Regions from separate parts of the Homo sapiens genome. Here region 2 is linked to region 1. Evidence: promoter capture Hi-C in human tissues and cell types (Jung and others, 2019). All regions are on one chromosome and are shown on one strand. The core of a region is centred on a gene start or on the middle of the fragment in contact, and the rest is flanking DNA. Distances in the headings are between cores, read along the strand shown. Region 1 holds the start of BBS9 (Bardet-Biedl syndrome 9). Region 2 has its middle 50 kb from the start of KBTBD2.

Region 1 (6,243 bases), core at 3,499-5,998:
GGGTGGATCACCTGAGGCCAGAAGTTCGAGACCAGCCTGGCCAACATGGTGAAACCCCATCTCCACTAAAAATACAAAAAAAAAAAAAAAAAAAAATAGCCAGGCGTGATGGCAGGTGCCTGTAAGCCCAATTACTTGGGAGGCTGAGGCAGGAGAATTGCTTGAACCTGGAGGCAGGGGTTGCAGTGGGCCAAAACCACACCATTGCACTCCAGCCTAGGGAACAAGAGCAAAACTCCGTTTCAAAAAAAAAATGCTCAGCATAATTAGTCATTAGGGAAACACAAATCAAAACTATGAGATATGACTTCACACCTACTATGACAGAATCGAAGTCAGATAGTAATAAGCATTGGTGAGGATGTAAAGAAATCAGAGCCCTCATATACTGCTAGTGAGAATGCAAAACGATGCAACCACTTTGGAAAGGAATCTAGAAGTTCCTCTAACACTTAAACACAGAATTACCATATGACCCAGCAATCTGACACTGAAGTATCTATCCAAGGGCAATGAAAACATATGTGCATACAAAAAAACTTACACATAAATGTTTATAGTAGCATTATTCATAATATCTAAAATTTGGAAACAACCCAAATGTCCATCAGCTGATGAATATATAAACAAAAGGAAGCATCCATACAGTGGAATATTATTTGGCCATAAAAAAGAAAAGAACAAAATACTGATATATGTTACAACATAAATAAATAAAAGCATATAGGTTTTAGAATCAGACATATCTGGCTCTTAAAAACATGCTAAGTTAAAGAAGCCAGTAACAAAAGGCCACCTATTATATGATTCTGTTTATATAAAATATCCAGGATAGGCAAATTCATAAAGACAGAAAGTAGATTCTTAGTTGCTTAGGTCTGGGGGTAGGGGAGAAGGAAGAGAGAAGGAGAGTTATAGCTAAGGGATGCGAGGTTTCTTTTTGAGTTGATAAAAATATTCCAAACTTGGCTGTGGTAATGGTTACATGTATCTGTGAATATACAAAAAAGGAACTGAATTTTATGTGTTAAATGGGTGAATTGTATGGTATTTGAATTGTATTTCAACAAAGCTGTTTTTTTTTAAAGATAACAAATGATGATGGATACATGGGGGTTCATTTTGTTATTCTTCATGCTTTTGGTTATGCTTCAAATTCCCCATAAACTTTCATTTTTTTTTAAAGCAGAACACTCCTGTATTTTGGCCACATTTACCATTAGGCCAGGTGTGGTGGCACACACCTGTAATCCCAGCACTTTGGGAGGCCAAGGCGGATTGATCACTTGAGCTAAGGAGTTCAGGACCAGCCTGCGCAACATAGTGAGACCTCATCTTTGCCAAGCATGGCAGAAAAAATAAAAATTATTACAACTTTTTTAAATATTAAAAAAAGAACAATAGCAAATTAAATTCAGAAGGTCAGCAAAATAAATTCTGCCCTTTCTCCTGGAAGACATCCCAAGTCATCAAGAAAATGAAAAATTAGCCATAAATTGAGACACAAATAAAATGCTAATCTGTATTCCAATCTAGGAAAGATATAGGCCTTGACATTGAGATATTAAGATAAGCAGGTAGGTGTGGGAGGTCTGGTACTGACAGGTTAGGAAAGATGGTAAGGAACAATAGTAATAAAACATTTTTTGGTCATGAAACCTGGCTTTTGGGTTACAAAATAAACAAAAAGTGTTTTAAATAACAAAAAATAAAATATGTATACAATGTTTTTTTAATTCAGTTTAGTTAACTGTCTTGAATAAGGAACCGAGGTTTGCATTTTATCCCCTTTTCATTCAGTGTTGATTTCCAGTTGCTCACTGATTTGTCTTTAAGTAATTGGAAAATAAAAACCAGGTTTTTAATGACTTCGCCTTAAAGGAAAGTATCTACTAATCATTTACTAAAGCCAGTCAGGATTCTAAATGCTTTGCAAGCATTCTATTTTGATATTCATAACAAAACTACAAAGTAAATTGTAGATACTATTATTCAGGTATCCTTGAATACAGAGAAGTTAAGAAATCCGTGCCAGTGGTCTCACTAGTTAAGTGATGTGCGGTACCTAAACCCAGACTGTCTACTCCAGAACCCTAAACAAACGGCCTATGCACACGCCCCTCCATGTAGACTATAAAAGCAATAGCTCTATTCACACTAATTCTAAACACTACAAGTTCAAACTACAGGCAAGTATGTCATAAATTTGATTAAATTGTTAAAGGATGATTAGAAGACAATAATTTGAAGGTTGTAACAGGTGCAGTCCTATAAACAGGCATAACAGATTAGTTTCTAATGCCTTATTAGAATAATAAATGGGAGATAATCTCCTTATCCCCTAAACTCCAGAAATTCTCTTCTATACTCTTCACTTGACACTTTTTTGTTTTGAATACTTTTTTTTCTACAACAAGTTTACTCAGATTTAGGTTTCATTTAAGAGGTGGCTGACCTTTTTTTGCTGACCTTCTGAATTTAATTTGCTATTGTTCTTTTTTTAATATTTTAAAAAGTTTTAATAATTTTTATTTTTTCTGCCATGCTCGGCAAAGACGAGGTCTCACTATGTTGCCCAGGCTGGTCTTGAACACCTCATTGACCTAGTCCTACAATATGATCAGCTGTGAAAACAATAACCCCAAAGAATGCTGTGGAAAAAACATACAGGTTTGAAGGTCAGTTCTGGAAACAGACCTTGCAGCTGTTGTTCATTTTCAGAGCTTTGCTTTCTCCAGGTTATGCCAGTGTCACACCAAATTTAAGAAAGTAGAAATCAGGTCTTCCAGTCAAAGAAAGATGACAAATGCATGTAGTGTTCAAAAGAAGTATACTGCTTTTGAAGGCAATAATACAAGGGCTCACTGTTGGAATTTTCAACAAAAGACTCAAAGGGCAAAATAACACAAAATTTGGAGTAGGACAGCTCTGGGTGCACTTTCTGACCACGTTACACTACATGATCTTAAACAAGTCCCTTATCCTCTAGTATCTCAATTGTTCTAGGGTGGAGGAGGATAAAATGGCTCAACCCATAGCAAGTACTCAATAGATGTCAGTAATAACCCAACAGTAGAAACAGTGCTAGTAGGAGAGACAGTGGTAGTAGTGGTAGTTGAAAGAGACGGTGGTAGTGTGTTCTGTGCAAGACACAATTACGAATGCCAAACTCACCCTCTGGACCGAAATTTTAAATGGGACTCACAAAGACTGATAGTAATCACTAATGGAAATGTTATTAACCAGCAGGGATGTTTTATAATAATTTCATGTATTTTAATAATTTTCAAAAATATTTCAAAGTATTCTAAAGCGTAAGACTTACTACATCCCTCAAAAGGTGTAAAAGTTTTAAAATTACTATATATACTATTGCTGTTGGATTTTTTCCCTTCAGTGAGCATTTCTATCAAGAAGTTGTACCATAAATATAAGTGTATAGTTGTAATTTAACCACGACAATTACACACAAGGAAAAATCCCTTAAACTCTGACAAATAACTTGTAACTTATTTTCAAAATAAAGTTTTTTAAAATTCTTCTTTAAAAACTTCTGGGTTTTCTAGTTTTTTTTTTAATTCTTCCGTATATTCATGAAAAAAATCTCAGTAATTGTTTTCTTTATAAAATGCTAATAAGTTAGAAAATCTTTCTCTGAATGCTGGCCAACTTAAGACCCATAGCTTATCCTGCAGCATCTTTCAAGTTGTTTATCAATGAGGACATGTAAGATGTGTATACCTGTAAGATACGGTTTCATTTTTAAAGTAAAAGTGAGATACCCAAAAAAATACATTTCTCCAGGAAATTGAAGTCAAAGGCAGGATTTGACTGGCAGGAGGTGCTGATAAAATCAGCGCAGCTCATCTAAACTGTTGTGGTCTCCAAGTAACAAGAGGAGAAACAATAATCCTATTACTAGAAGGATTGGGGGTATTAGTACATGCATCCTACTTCAGTCGTAGGCTGGGAACTGCTTTGCCCATTTACTCACAGACCTGTTGAAGTGTCTCAGGAGGATGCTCATGCTCCAAGTGACATTCCTCAATGGAATCCTTAAAAATTCTCATCCCTTTTTTCTCAAAAGTACTCACAGAATCTCATACACTTTGTGCTCCTAGTGTTTGTTTATTTCAGTGCAAACATCTAAGAAATCAATCACCTTACAGACTCCAAACCATTATACTGCATTAGAGAATCTTGTTCACAAAATAAAACATGGAAAGGGTATTCATGTACCCGAAGTTTAACAACAGACATACCATCTTACCTGATGCCACGTCAGATGAGCTCTGCCCCACCTTTCTGCGAACCCTCGTTCGGCAAATTTTGCTTTATGAACGCCTGACAAGGTCCCAGTGATGGAGCAGAGGGAGCAAGAACGGACGGTGCAGAGAAAAGCAACCTTTAGCTTCACTATTCCCTCTCGTCCTCCAGCTGAAAGTTGTTCCACGTCCCGGGCAAAGAGAGAGCCCCACCAGGCAGCACCACCAGCTCCACAGAGTTGGAGTGATTCCCCCAAGAAGCTCCCCTGCGCCCCCCGTCACCCCCAGAGACCAGCAGAGGAAACGGCATCTATCCCTTGGAAGACACTAGGCAGGCGAGAACAAATGCAAGTCCTGCTGCTCACACCGAGGAGGAAAGGATGGAGGAGGCGGTGAATGGGATGTAGCAGAAACCCGACGGCCGCAGCGGAAGGGACACCTCCCCTCTCCAGCCTAACTCTGAGCCATCTTCGCCCTGTTGTCATAGCACTTACAACGGACGCCACTGCGCAGGTCACGCCGTGCCGCGCCGACTTCTGGGGGCTGGAGTCCAGAGAGGCTGAGGCGCAAAGGCGGGGACCGACTTCTGAGAGGGCCGCGGTTGGAATTAGATTGCTACTGGGGCGGGGCTCGAGTGAACCACGGCCTGGTCCTCATTAGCAGAGAGTGATAATTACTGCAATCCTCTGCCCTGTCCTGGCAGCAGTTCCTTAAGGAAGACCCTCCTCCTGCCTGGGCTCCGGGGGCAGGCCACGCCCCCCCGGCCGCGTGACCGCCCTCTCCCCTCGGTGCGTGTGGGTGGGGCCTAGTGGGGGCGGGGCGTCACTGGCTTGTCCATGGTGCTCTGGGATCCTGCGCTTCTGAGAGTCCCAATCGCGGTGTTTTTTTCCTGCCGGGACACTCATGAGGGCCCCGTCCATGCACCGCGCGACCGTGGCGAGGGTGGTCGCGGTAGCGAGCGCCAGCGTGTGCGCCCTGGTGGCGGGGGTGGTGCTGGCCCAGTACATATTCACCTTGGAGAAGAAGGCGAGGCGGAAGACCAAGATCATCGAGATGATGAAGCTTTTGAACAGTTTCCAGTTTTTCCTTTTTTTACTATTTGAAACAGCGCTGCTTTGAAGTTACTTGTGCCTGCGTCCTGATACACATGTGTTAAATATATTTTCCGTATATACCTTAGAGTGCATTTCCTGGTATATGGGATTGGATCTATGTCTTCTTTTGTTTTTTACTTATTTTTTTTTAATCTTTACATTCAAATTCAATGTAGCCAACCTTGAAGTTTTTCTTGTTTGCTTTTTTCAATGGATTCTAGTGTAGGCTTTAAATTTCCAGTATTTCACCATCAATCCACAAATCCACATTCCCAGTAGAAAATACCATTCTAGTTTTAGTTTTTTGGGTTTTGGGTTTTTTTTTTTTTTTTAACTGAGACTGGGTCTCCCTGACAGGGTCGCCTAGACTGGAGTGCAGTGACAGGATCACTGCTCACTGAAGCACTGAAGCCTCAGCCTCCCGGGCTCAAACGATTCTCCCACCTTAGCCTTCCTAGTAAGCTGGGACTACAGGCACAGACCACCACACCTGGCTAATTTTTGTATTTTTTGTAGAGATGGAGTTTCGCCATGTCCAGGTTGCTCTCGAACTCCTGGGTTCAAACGATCCACCCACCTCAGTCCCCCAAAGTGCTGGGATTGCTGGCGTGAGCCACCGCGTCCGGCCTCAATATTTTTAAAAATGACCTTTCAGTCAAAGCCTTGGTAATATAACCAGTTTCCAATTGTATTCTGCTATACAGAGAGAGCAGATTTTTATTAGACTTATTGAAATGACCATATTACCATAAGAAGACTCACAAATGGTTTTCTAATTATGGAGGAATCAAGTAAAGAGAAAAAAAGTTTTTATCTTTTTTTACACAAGTATACTCTATCAAATTGCTGTAAATTATAAATAGCTTAAAAGACAAGATTTTCTT
Region 2 (6,294 bases), core at 3,636-6,135, 290 kb after region 1:
TCCAGGAATGGGCACCAGAAACCATGCCTGAGGACTAAGGTCTGAAGGACAATCCACAATGAGGTTAATCTGCCTGTGGTTAAGAAAGAGAAGCTGTATAATTAAATGTGTAGTCAGTCAGCCATAGTCATGGTTTGCTTAGAATTTAAAACCCTAAAACCTTTTCTCAGAGCTACGAGGTTTCATCGTTTTGAAGAATCTCATTTCACACAAATTAACTTCTAGGAAACAAAAATTCATACAAGGAATTCAAAGAAGGTGTAGAAATTTCTCAAAATAAAAATAAATAGGAAGAAGAAAACTAAAGAGGAGGACGAAATATACTCATTCCTCATACTGAAATGATGATTTTTAGAACCAAAATTATAACATAAGGCTTAAGGCTTTGTCTTAGTAAAGACAGGCAATCTTAAAAGTAAAATATAAAAACTTCATTTATTGTTATTCTTTACATTTTTGACAGGAAAATTAGTCATGTTTTATTGTATCTTAAGAGTAAAAGGAAAATTACCATGTACTACAGTCTACTGTTCCACTATAAGTGATGTCTACTCAAATATACATTAGTTTCTAGATGCACTATATTTGGGGTTGTTCAAAATAGTTTTTCTTAAAACTACAATTAAACATGAAAAAATTTTAAAGTGGTTTAAAGTATTAAAATGTAAACATTTGAATAATGCTAAAAAATAAGAAAAGTACAGTTACCAATAATTTTTTTAAAACCAAGAATAAGTATTTGATAAGCAACTAAATGAGTAAACAGTACTTATTTGACAGAAAATGTTGGGGGGAGGAGGAGAGGAGAGAGAGCGAGAGAGAGAAAGAGACATGATAATGCCACATGGCTGGAAGTTAAGGGAATTTCCTAACCACAAGGCCCAAGAGTTTGGATTAATAATGGGCAGGAAAAGCTTCATTAACAGGAGAACAGAGAACAAAAAGAGCACAAGGAAGCAAAACAGACAGATAGTTCCGCAAAGCAAACACTCCATGTCTGCCCCATCTACTGTAACTCAAGTTGATGACAGGGGCTGACATGACCGAAGAACTTACAATCACTGAAATGTCCAAAAGACAAGAGCAAGAGGCAGAAAAAAGAAGCAAGGGGCATTAATAGTTCTTACACTATAAAATCAGCCCCTACATTGTCAGAATTGTCCTGTATTTTCACGTCATCCTTGTCACAACTCATTGTGTTTTCTTTATATAGATAACTTTGCTCACTTTAGCACAAATATGGAAGTCAAGTACAAGCATATACTCATTTGCATAGCAAATTTTAAAGGGGGCATTGAAATAGTAACCAATTGATAAAGGTATTGTCAGGCCTCTGAGCCCAGGCCAGGCCATCGCATCCCCTGTGACTTGCACATATACATCCATATGGCCTAAAGTAACTGAAGATCCACAAAAGAAGTAAAAACAGCCTTAACTGATGACATTCCACCATTGTGATTTGTTCCTGCCCCACCCTAACTGATCAATGTACTTTGTAATCTCCCCCACCCTTAAGAAGGTTCTTTGTAATTCTCCCCACACTTGAGAATGTACTTTGTGAGATCCACCCCTGCCCACCAGAGAACAACCCCCTTTGATTGTAATTTTCCATTACCTTCCCAAGTCCTATAAAACGGCCCCACCCTTATCTCCCTATGCTGACTCTCTTTTCGGACTCAGCCCACCTGCACCCAGGTGAAATAAACAGCCATGTTGCTCACACAAAGCCTGTTTGGTGGTCTCTTCACATGGACGCGCATGAAATTTGGTGCCGTGACTTGGATCGGGGGACCTCCCTTGGGAGATCAATCCCCCCTCCTTCTGCTCTTTGCTCCATGAGAAAGATCCACCTACGACCTCAGGTCCTCAGACAGACCAGCCCAAGAAACATCTCACCAATTTCAAATCCGGTAAGCGGCCTCTCTTTACTCTCTTCTCCAACTTCCTTCACTATCCGTCAACCTCTTTCTCCTTTCAATCTTGGTGCTACACTTCAATCTCTCCCTTCTCTTAATTTCAATTCCTTTCATTTTCTGGTAGAGACAAAAGAGACACGTTTTATCCGTGGACCCAAAACTCCGGCGCCGGTCACGGACTGGGAAGGAAGTCTTCCCTTGGTGTTTAATCATTGCAGGGACGCCTCTCTGATTATACACCCACGTTTCAAGGGTGTCAGACCACGCAGGGACGCCTGCCTTGGTCCTTCACCCTTAGCGGCAAGTCCCACTTTTCTGGGGAAAGGGCAATTACCCCAACCCCTTCTCTCCTTGTCTCTACCCCTTCTCTGCTTTCCTGGGGAATGGCCAAGTACCCCAACCCCTTCTCTCCTTGTCTCTACCCCTTCTCTGCTTTCCTGGGGCAGGGGCAAGTACCCCTCAACCCCTTCTCCTTCACCCTTAGTGGCAAGTCCCGCTTTTCTAGGGGGAAAGAACCCCCAAACCCCTTCCCTTCATGTCTCTACGTTCTCTTTTCTCTGGGTTTGCTTCCTTCAATATAGGCAACCTTCCACCCTCCATTCCTCCCTCTTCTCCCTTAGCCTGTGTGCTCAAGAACTTAAAACCTCTTCAACTTACACCTCACCTAAAACCTAAACACCTTATTTTCTTCTGCAACACCGCTTGGCCCCAATACAAACTCGACAGTAGTTCCAAATAGCCGGAAAATGGCACTTTGAATTTTTCCATCCTACAAGATCTAAATAATCCTTGTCGTAAAAGGGTCAAATGGTCTGAGGTGCCTGACATCCAGGCATTCTTTTACACATCAGTCCCTTCCTAGTCTCTGTGCCCAGTGCAACTCGTCCCAAATCTTCCTTCTTTCCCTCCCGCCTGTCACCTCAGTCCCAACCCCAAGCATCACCAAGTGTTTCTAATCTTCCTTTTCTACAGACCCATCTGACCTCTCCCCTCCTCGCCAGTCCAAGCTAGGTCCCAATTCTTCCTCAGCCTCCGCTCCTCCACCCTGTAATCTTTTTATCGCCTCCCCTCCTCACACCTGGTCCGGCTTACAGTTTCGTTCTGTGACTAGCCCTCCCCCACCTGCCCAGCAATTTACTCTTAAAAAGGTGGCTGGAGCCAAAGGCATAGTCAAGGTTCATGCTCCTTTTTCTTTATCCCAAATCAGAAGCGTTTAGGCTCTTTTTCATCAAATATAAAAACCCAGCCCAGTTCATGGCTCGTTCAGCAGCAACCCTGAGATGCTTTACAGCCCTAGAAACTAAAAGGTCAAAAGGCCATCTTATTCTCAATATACATTTTATTACCCAATCTGCTCCCGACATTAAATAAAACTCCAAAAATTAAATTCCGGCCCTCAAACCCCACAACAGGATTTAATTAACCTCGCGTTCAAGGTGTACAATAATAGAAAAAAGTTGCAATTCCTTGCCTCCACTGTGAGACAAATCCCAGCCACATCTCCAGCACACAAGAACTTCCAAACGCCTGAACCGCAGCGGCCAGGCGTTCCTCCAGAACCTCCTCCCCCAGGAGCTTGCTACAAGTGCCAGAAATCTGACCACCAGGCCAAGGAATGCCTGCAGCCCAGGATTCCTCCTAAGCCGTGTCCCATCTGTGTGGGACCCCACTGGAAACCGGACTGTTCAACTCACCTGGCAGCCACTCCCGGAGCCCCTGGAACTCTGGCCCAAGGCTCTCTGACTGACTCCTTCTCGGCTTAGCGGTTGAAGACTCATGCTGCCCGATCGCCTCAGAAGCCCTGTAGACCATCACGGACGCCGAGCTTTGGGTAACTCTCACAGTGGAAGATAAGTCCGTCCCCTTCTTAATCAATACGGAGGCTACCCACTCCACATTACCTTCTTTTCAAGGGCCTGTTTCCCTTGCCTCCATAACTGTTGTGGGTATTGACGGCCAAGCTTCAAAACCCCTGAAAACTCCCCCACTCTGGTGCCAACTTGGACAACACTCTTATGCACTCTTTTTTAGTTATCCCCACCTGCCCAGTTCCCTTATTAGGCCGAGATATTTTAACCAAATTATCTGCTTCCCTGACTATTCCTGGACTACAGCTGCATCTCATTGCCACCCTTCTCCCCAGCCCAAAGCCTCCTTTGCATCTTCCTCTCATATCCCCCCACCTTAACCCACAAATATGGGACATCTCTACTCCTTCCCTGGCAACCGATCACATGCCCATTACCATCCCGTTAAAATCGAATCACCCTTACCCTGCTCAACGCCAATATCCCATCCCACAGCATGCTTTAAAAGGATTAAAGCCTGTTATCACTCGCCTGCTACAGTATGGGCTTCTAAAACCTATAAACTCTCCTTACCATTCCCCCATTTTACCTGTCCTAAAACCAGACAAGGCTTACAAGTTAGTTCAGGATCTGCGCCTTATCAACCAAATTGTTTTGCCTATCCACCCCATGGTGCCCAACCCATATATTCTCCTATCCTCAATACCTCCCTCTATTACCCATTATTCTGTTCTGGATCTCAAACATGCTTTCTTTACTATTTCTTTGCACCCTTCATCCCAGCCTCTCTTTGCCTTCACTTAGACTGACCCTGACACCCATTAGGCTCAGCAAATTACCTGGGCTGTACTGCCGCAAGGCTTCACAGACAGCCCCCATTACTTCAGTCAAGCCCAAATTTCATCCTCATCTGTTACCTATCTCAGCATAATTCTCATAAAAACGCACATGCTCTCCCTGCTGATCGTGTCCGATTAATCTCCCAAACCTCAATCCCTTACAAAACAACAACTCCTTTCCTTCCTAGGCATGGTTAGCATGGTCAGAATTCTTACACAAGAGCCAGGACCACACCCTGCAGCGTTTCTGTCCAAACAACTTGACCTTACTGTTTTAGCCTAGCCCTCATGTCTGCATGCAGCGGCTGCCGATGCTTTAATACTTCTAGAGGCCCTAAAAATCACAAACTATGCTCAACTCACTCTACATTTCTCATAACTTCCGAAATCTTTTTCTTCCTTATACCTGACGCATATACTTTCTGCTCCCCAGCTCCTTCAGCTGTACTCACTCTTTGTTAAGTCCCACAATTACCATTGTTCCTGGCCCGGACTTCAATCTGGCCTCCCACATTATTCCTGATACCACACCTGACCCCCATGACTGTATCTCTCTGATCCACCTGACATTCACCCCATTTCCCCATATTTCCTTCTTTCCTGTTCCTCACCCTGATCACGCTTGATTTATTGATGGCAGTTCCACCAGGCCTAATCGCCACACACCAGCAAAGGCAGGCTATGCTATAGCACAAGCCACTATCCCGCCTCTTAGAACCTCTCATTTCCTTTCCATCGTGGAAATCTATCCTCAAGGAAATAACTTCTCAGTGTTCCATCTGCTATTCTACTACTCCTCAGGGATTATTCAGGCCCCCTCCCTTCCCTACACATTAAGCTCGCTCAATTCATCCAAAACCGTATCCAGGCCATCACCAATCATTCTATACGACAAATGTTTCTTCTAACATCCCCACAATATCACCCCTTACCACAAGACCTCCCTTCAGCTTAATCTCTCCCACTCTAGGTTCCCACGCCACCCCTAATCCCGCTTGAAGCAGCCCTGAGAAACATCACCCATTCTCTCTCCATACCACCCCCCAAAAATTTTCGCCGCCCCAACACTTCAACACTATTTTGTTTTATTTGTCTTATTAATATAAGAAGGCAGGAATGTCAGGCCTCTGAGCCCAGGCCAGGCCATCGCATCCCCTGTGACTTGCACGTATACATTCAGATGGCCTAAAGTAACTGAAGATCCACAAAAGAAGTAAAAACAGCCTTAACTGATGACATTCCACCATTGTGATTTGTTCCTGCCCCACCCTAACTGATCAATGTACTTTGTAATCTCCCCCACCCTTAAGAAGGTTCTTTGTAATTCTCCCCACACTTGAGAATGTACTTTGTGAGATCCACCCCTGCCCACCAGAGAACAACCCCCTTTGATTGTAATTTTCCATTACCTTCCCAAATCCTATAAAATGGCCCCACCCTTATCTCCCTATGCTGACTCTCTTTTTGGACTCAGCCCACCTGCACCCAGGTGAAATAAACAGCCATGTTGCTCACACAAAGCCTGTTTGGTGGTCTCTTCACACGGACGCGCATGAAAGGTATGAGTCATTTTTATAATTAGAATGACATTCAAATTGACCAAATAAAACATTTTCTATTTGAAAACAGTTACCTATAAAAGTTTTTGGGATATGAACAACACATGACTTAGCAAAACATTAAAACCATTAGAGATGTAGTTCTCCGTAGGCAGCAGGTCATGTAGCAGTC

What was found. Contacts are between HindIII fragments. The study calls those that stand out against the background at their distance.
Region 2: a fragment that was not itself captured here is called in contact with the fragment with the promoter of BBS9 in region 1 in 1 of the 25 tissues and cell types used here (spleen).

The regions. Positions count from the first base shown.
Region 1 is chr7:33,128,069-33,134,311 of GRCh38, reverse strand. BBS9 (Bardet-Biedl syndrome 9) reads right to left here and starts at 4,748. Exons shown (of 23, transcript NM_198428.3): 1 at 4,271-4,748. RefSeq lists enhancers at 4,686-4,795, 5,286-5,335 and a silencer at 4,846-5,145. The HindIII fragment of the contact is 11,941 bases long and covers 1-6,243 here.
Region 2 is chr7:32,838,569-32,844,862 of GRCh38, reverse strand. It overlaps the pseudogene DPY19L1P2. Among named protein-coding and RNA genes, the nearest start is that of KBTBD2, 50 kb to the left of the region's middle. RefSeq lists an enhancer at 1-374. The HindIII fragment of the contact is 4,977 bases long and covers 2,397-6,294 here.